2 separate regions of the Homo sapiens genome follow, and region 2 is linked to region 1. Evidence: promoter capture Hi-C in 16 types of primary human blood cells and fetal thymus (Javierre and others, 2016). All regions are on one chromosome and are shown on one strand. Each heading gives the region's core, a stretch centred on a gene start or on the middle of the fragment in contact. The rest is flanking DNA. Distances are from core to core; before and after follow the strand shown. Region 1 holds the start of DLK2 (delta like non-canonical Notch ligand 2). Region 2 overlaps CUL9 (cullin 9).

Region 1 (2,757 bases), core at 130-2,629:
GCTCTGTGCCTGTGGAGGTGGCTGTGTGAAGGTGGGAAGCTGCTCTGCCCCGACTAGCGACTGCTCCTTCCGATGTTTTGAATTTAAAGATGGTGAAATCTCAATCTGAAGGACTAGAGATGGGCGCTAGCGTTCCTGACCTCTGCCCTGTTGTCCTGCACAAACTAGAAATTATGTTCTGGGTCCTTGTCTTTTTTTGGGGGGGGGCGGGGGTCGGAGTTTTGCTCTGTCCCCCAAGCTGGAGTGCAGTGGCGCGATCTTGGCTAACTGCAACGTCTGCCTCCCGGGTTTTCAAGCGATTTTCCTGCCTCAGCCTTCCGAGTAGCTGGGATTACAGGCGCGCACCACCACGCCTGGCTAATTTCTGTATTTTTAATAGAGACGGGTTTCACCATGTTGGCCAGGCTGGTCTCGAACTCCTGACCTCAGGTGATCCGCCCGCCTCAGCCTCCCAAAGTGCTGGAATTATAGGCGTGAGCCCACCGAGCTTGGCTGGGTCCTTGTCTTGAAATGTGTCTCTGAGCCATTAGCCAGAAGGGGGCAAAGAGGCCTGGAGGGCAGCTTTCCCCCACTCCCCCTCCGTTACTCTCTGAATCTGAGCTCCAGGTTTGGGCAGTTGAGGTTTAGCCTGAGGCCAAGGACGAACGTGATGGGGTACAGGAGAAGACTTGGCGGTGGAGGGGGTTTTGTGTGCACATTTACAGAGTCAGGGGCATTCCCAGTCCAGAAAGGATTCTCAGAGGCAGTCACAAAAAGGAATGGGGTGGAAGGGCTGAGACTTGAGGGAGGGAAGGGTGGTGGGGGTAGGGCCGGGGTGTGGTTGGGTGGATCGGGTTGATATTTATATAGGGATAGGTTGATCTTGGAAGGCTGGAGACGGCAACGTGGACAGGAAGAAGCGGAGGGCGAGGAGGAGCAGAGGAGCACACAGATGAAGCAGGTGATGAAGGCTTTACAAGCGGGGAGGCGTGGGCTGGTGACAGGCGGAGGGCGGGGAGCGATTGCCTGCGTGTGCATAGATCTATATGAGAAGCGTGATGAGCGGCGGACAAGCGAAGGCAGGGCTGGGGCGTGGGCCGCGGAGCGCTGGTCGGGAAAGTGGGCATGGGAGATGAGAGAATAACGGGGTTGCGCTCCTTTGGCTTAATAGTTTGCTCCCATTGAGACTCCTAAGATTTCCTCCTCTCTTGGAAGGAAGCTGGGTTCGGGGCGTTGGGTAGCCGCGGAGGGCCGGGGCCCCGGGGCGCGCCGGGTGCTAGGTGTGCGCCGTGCGTCGCGGGGGGGGGGATGGGGGTGGGGGCGGGCTCCGCCCCTGGCAGGGGGCCTGAGCGCGCGCGAGGAGCAGCCGCTGCCGCCGCTCGGGGTCGCCTGGAGCCCCAGATTCCCGAGCGCTCGGCTCGCATGGCAGCCGCTTCGGCGCCCGGCCCCGCGGCCAGCTAGGGGCGGCCCCGCGCTCCCTCACGGCCCCTCGGCGGCGCCCGTCGGATCCGGCCTCTCTCTGCGCCCCGGGGCGCGCCACCTCCCCGCCGGAGGTGAGGACTGCGGGGACAGGGCGCGGTGGGGATTCCAGGCCCCGCGCCGCCGCCGAACCCAGCGCGGCGGAGATAGAAAGGGGACGTGGGAGAGAGTGGTGGTGGCGGGGGGGGGGGCTGTCGGAGCTGTGGGGCGGAGACTGCTCGCTGCCGGGAACCGTCCTTCCCTCCGGCCCCCGCGTCCCCTCCGTGCTCGAGGCCGCCTCTCGGCGCTGTCCCCATCCCGCGGACCCCTCCGTCCTGACTACGATCCCAACCCCAGCCATTCCCGCGCCTGGCCTCGCTCCGCGATGCCCATCTTTCCCCTCCTTGCAGACCCCGCTCCCGGGTTCCTGTCTTCGCTCTCCTCGCTCTCTTCGCCTGCTCAACCCTTCCCTGCCCCCATCCTCCCGCTACCCCCATCCCCTTCTTCTGTCCCGGCGCCCCTCTCCCTCGTCGGCTCCTGTCACTTGGAACCCGTATCCGTGCCGCTATCTCCGCGTCCGGCCGCCTCCCAACCGGTGCCGTCCCACAGGTGTCCACGCGTCCGGCCGTCCATCCGTCCGTCCCTCCTGGGGCCGGCGCTGACCATGCCCAGCGGCTGCCGCTGCCTGCATCTCGTGTGCCTGTTGTGCATTCTGGGGGCTCCCGGTCAGCCTGTCCGAGGTGAGCGCGCCCGCTGGGCTCCAGTCGCGGCCCTGTCCAGCCGTCCTCGCTTGCACGTTGACCTCTGCCGGCCGGAGGCGGCACTGCAGTCGCTCCGACCCGCGGGGCAAGCAAGACCGAGGTTGCCTTTTTGGAATGGGATGAGTTTCTGTGTTATGTCCTGCCCTAGGGTTGAGTCCGCTCAGTTACTGGAACCCCAATCCTCTCCTGAGTCCCGCATCCCAGCGAGCTGTGCCCTGACTCAGACTCACCCCTCCCACATCAATCTCTTGCAGCCGATGACTGCAGCTCCCACTGTGACCTGGCCCACGGCTGCTGTGCACCTGACGGCTCCTGCAGGTACCTGTCCTGAGCACGTGCCCCCAAACCCTTTGGTACCCATTTCTAAGCCCTTCACGTGCACAACAGTGTCTAGGGGCTTCAGACTCTACTCTTCATGCCTCATCACTCCTATGGCTGACTGGCCAGTCCCCCTTTCCCCTTTACCTCACCTCTCTTGCTTCTTCTAGTTTTTATCTCCCCACTTCTTTAATCTCCCAAGTCTGATCCAGGGATTGTCTGAACTCCTGACAGGGAGAGA
Region 2 (2,757 bases), core at 91-2,590, 250 kb after region 1:
CTGTCTCAAAAAAATTAAAATAAAATAATAAACTGATTACAATTAAATTATTTAGTTCCTCAGTTATATTAGCCACATTCCAAGTACTTAATTGCCACCAATGACTATCATACTGAACGGTGCAGAAAAGAATTTTTCAATCATTGCAGAAAGTTCTACTGGATAGCACTGTTAAACTATTTTAACCTTCTAACAAAATAGCCAAAAAATATATATACAGTTAAACCAGTATGATTAGCGGTTTTAAAAAATTCACCATCATAGTGGTAGATTTTAGCACACCTCTCTCAGTAGTAGATCAAGTAGACAAAAACTAGTAACTTTACAGAAGATGTGAACAAAACAATTAACAAGGTCAATTTGGTGAAATATGTAGAATCCAGTTAAGAATACACATTCTTCTTAATCATACATGAAACAGGTAAAATATGACCATCTACCAGGCCATAACGAAGTCTCAATAAACTGCAAAGATTCAGAATCATAGAAACCATGCTCTTTGGCCACAGGGGAATGAGGTTAGAAATATAAAACAAAAAAAAATTAAACAAAGAAAAACTTGTTTGGAAATTAAAATATATATTCTTCTGAAAAACAAAATAAAGAAATAATAATAGAAATTTAACAATTCTTAGAACTAAACAATAATAAAAATAATACGTAATAAAAACTTACAGAACATCCCAAATGCCCATAAACAGCAGAAAGGGTAAATACATCCATACAATGGAATATGACTCAGCAAAATAAATGAATAAACTAATGATACCCTTGACAACCTGAATAACCCTCACAGACAGTATGTTTCGTGAAAGACATCAGACACAGCAGAATACTGTATGATTCCATTTATATGATGTTCAAATACAGGCACAAATCTATGGTGATAAAGGTTAAAAATAATGATTTCTCCTGGAAGAAGACATTGACTGGAAAGGGGGCATGAAGGAGACAGCCTTCTACGATGCTGGAAATGTTCTGTATCTTGATGGGGGTATGAGGGAGGTAGATACATGGGTGTATATGAATATAATAATTCATGAAGCCTTATAATTAAGACGTGTGCACTTTACTGAATACTAGTTATATCCCAATCTAAAAAATCTTTTTGGCCGGGCACAGTGGCTCACTGAGGCGGGTGGATCACCTGAGGTCAGGAGTTTGAGACCAGCCTGGTTAACATGGTGAAACCCCGTCACTACTAAAAATACACAATTAGCCGGGTGTGGTGGCATACGCCTGTAGTCCCAGCTACTTGGGAGGCTGAGACAGGAGAATCGCTTGAACCCGGGAGGTAGAGGCTGCAGTGAGCAGAGATTACACCACTGCACTCTGGTCTGGGTGACAGAGTGAGACTCCATGTCAAAAAAATAAAGAAAAAAAATCTTTTAAAACTTTATAGGATGCCACTAAAGCAGTATTGAGAGGGAAATGAATAGTCTTAAACACTTTTATTTGGAAAAAAGTCTGAAAAGACTAAAAATCAAATAAGCACCTCACTTGAAGTTAGAAAAAGAAAACAGAACAAATTCATAGAAAGTTGAAGAAACTGATGAGAGCAGAAATTAATGAAACTACAACCCATGCTTTCTCATCCCTCGCTAGGAGCTGATATTTTTCTTCACATCTATATCCTGTCCAAAGGTCCTCTCCTCTTCCTCTCTTGCCACCCCGAATCTCACCCCGATCTCCAATTTCCTCTCCCTAGTTCCTCACTCTGGCTGTAGAAACTGGAGAAACGGTCAAGGGCATCACAGAATTCTGTGGGAAGGCACTTTCTGGGATGGTACAGGTAGCAGAGTGGGGAGACGGGCCAGCAGCGTGGTGACAGGACCAGTATAGAAATGGCTGGACTTGGATCTTCGATAAATAATTCTTTCTCAGCTTCCTCTTCCTCCTCTTCCTCCTGAGGGACAGAAGGATTTCAAGGGCCCTTGGGCTCCCTTCCTTGGTCTAGTCTTCTCTCACTCTCCTATTCTCCCTGCTCTTACCTCCTCTTCCTCTAGTCTCTTTTCCTCCTCATCTTCCTGCTCCAAGAACAACTTGTCGAGCCGCTGGAGCTGGAAGAGGTGGAACTGGCGCTGCAGCTCCTCAGAGGTGCTCAGGCTCTGCAGCATCAGCTGTGGGAGGCGGTTGGGAAAACAGAGGCCAATCTGCTCTAGCACAGCCCCCTCCAGCCAGCTCGAACCAAAGCTCAGGAGACGGTCCGCCATATAATGCCTGCAGCACACACAGCCCGGGCCAAGCCTCAGTGTGGGTGCCAGCGTGGCCCAGCCTCCCCCTCGAGAATGTAGGTCCCTCTGTCCCTCTGCCTGAGTCACATACCCTACCTCACCTCTTCTTTCCCACTCCCTTTCCACCAATGCATGACCACCTCCACTTTTTTTTTTTTTTTTTGAGACGGAGTCTTGCTCTTGTCACCCAGGCTGAAGTGCAATGACGTGGTCTTGGCTCACTGCAACCTCTGCCTCCCGGGTTCAAGAGATTCACCTGCCTCACCCTCCCGAATAGCTGGGATTACAGGTGCCTGCCACCACGCCACCACACCTGGCTAATTTTTGTATTTTTAGTAGAGAAAGGGTTTCACCATGTTGGTCAGGCTGGTCTTGAACTCCTGACCTCAGGTGATCTGCCTGCCAGAATGCTGGGATTACATGCGTGAGCCACCGCGCCTGGCCAGCCATCTCCACATCTTAATCTCTCCTCTACACAGCCTCTTTTCTCATCTCCCCTATAAGACTCAAATCTTTCCACTCT

What was found. Contacts are between HindIII fragments. The CHiCAGO score rates a contact against its expected background, and 5 or more counts as called.
Region 2: a contact is called between a fragment that was not itself captured here and the fragment with the promoter of DLK2 in region 1, in 1 of 17 cell types (naive B cells). The highest score is 5.2, in naive B cells.

What each region holds. Positions count from the first base shown.
Region 1 is chr6:43,454,170-43,456,926 of GRCh38, reverse strand. It overlaps DLK2 (delta like non-canonical Notch ligand 2), which reads left to right and starts at 1,379. Exons shown (of 6, transcript NM_023932.4): 1 at 1,379-1,532; 2 at 2,047-2,177; 3 at 2,453-2,516. The coding sequence starts at 2,102. RefSeq lists enhancers at 1-722, 2,351-2,400 and silencers at 1,321-1,560, 1,661-1,710, 1,741-1,820. The HindIII fragment of the contact is 6,033 bases long and covers 1-2,757 here.
Region 2 is chr6:43,205,470-43,208,226 of GRCh38, reverse strand. CUL9 (cullin 9) reads right to left here. Exons shown (of 41, transcript NM_015089.4): 25 at 1,992-2,220; 26 at 1,717-1,906. Among named protein-coding and RNA genes, the nearest start is that of DNPH1, 23 kb to the left of the region's middle. The HindIII fragment of the contact is 3,481 bases long and covers 1-2,757 here.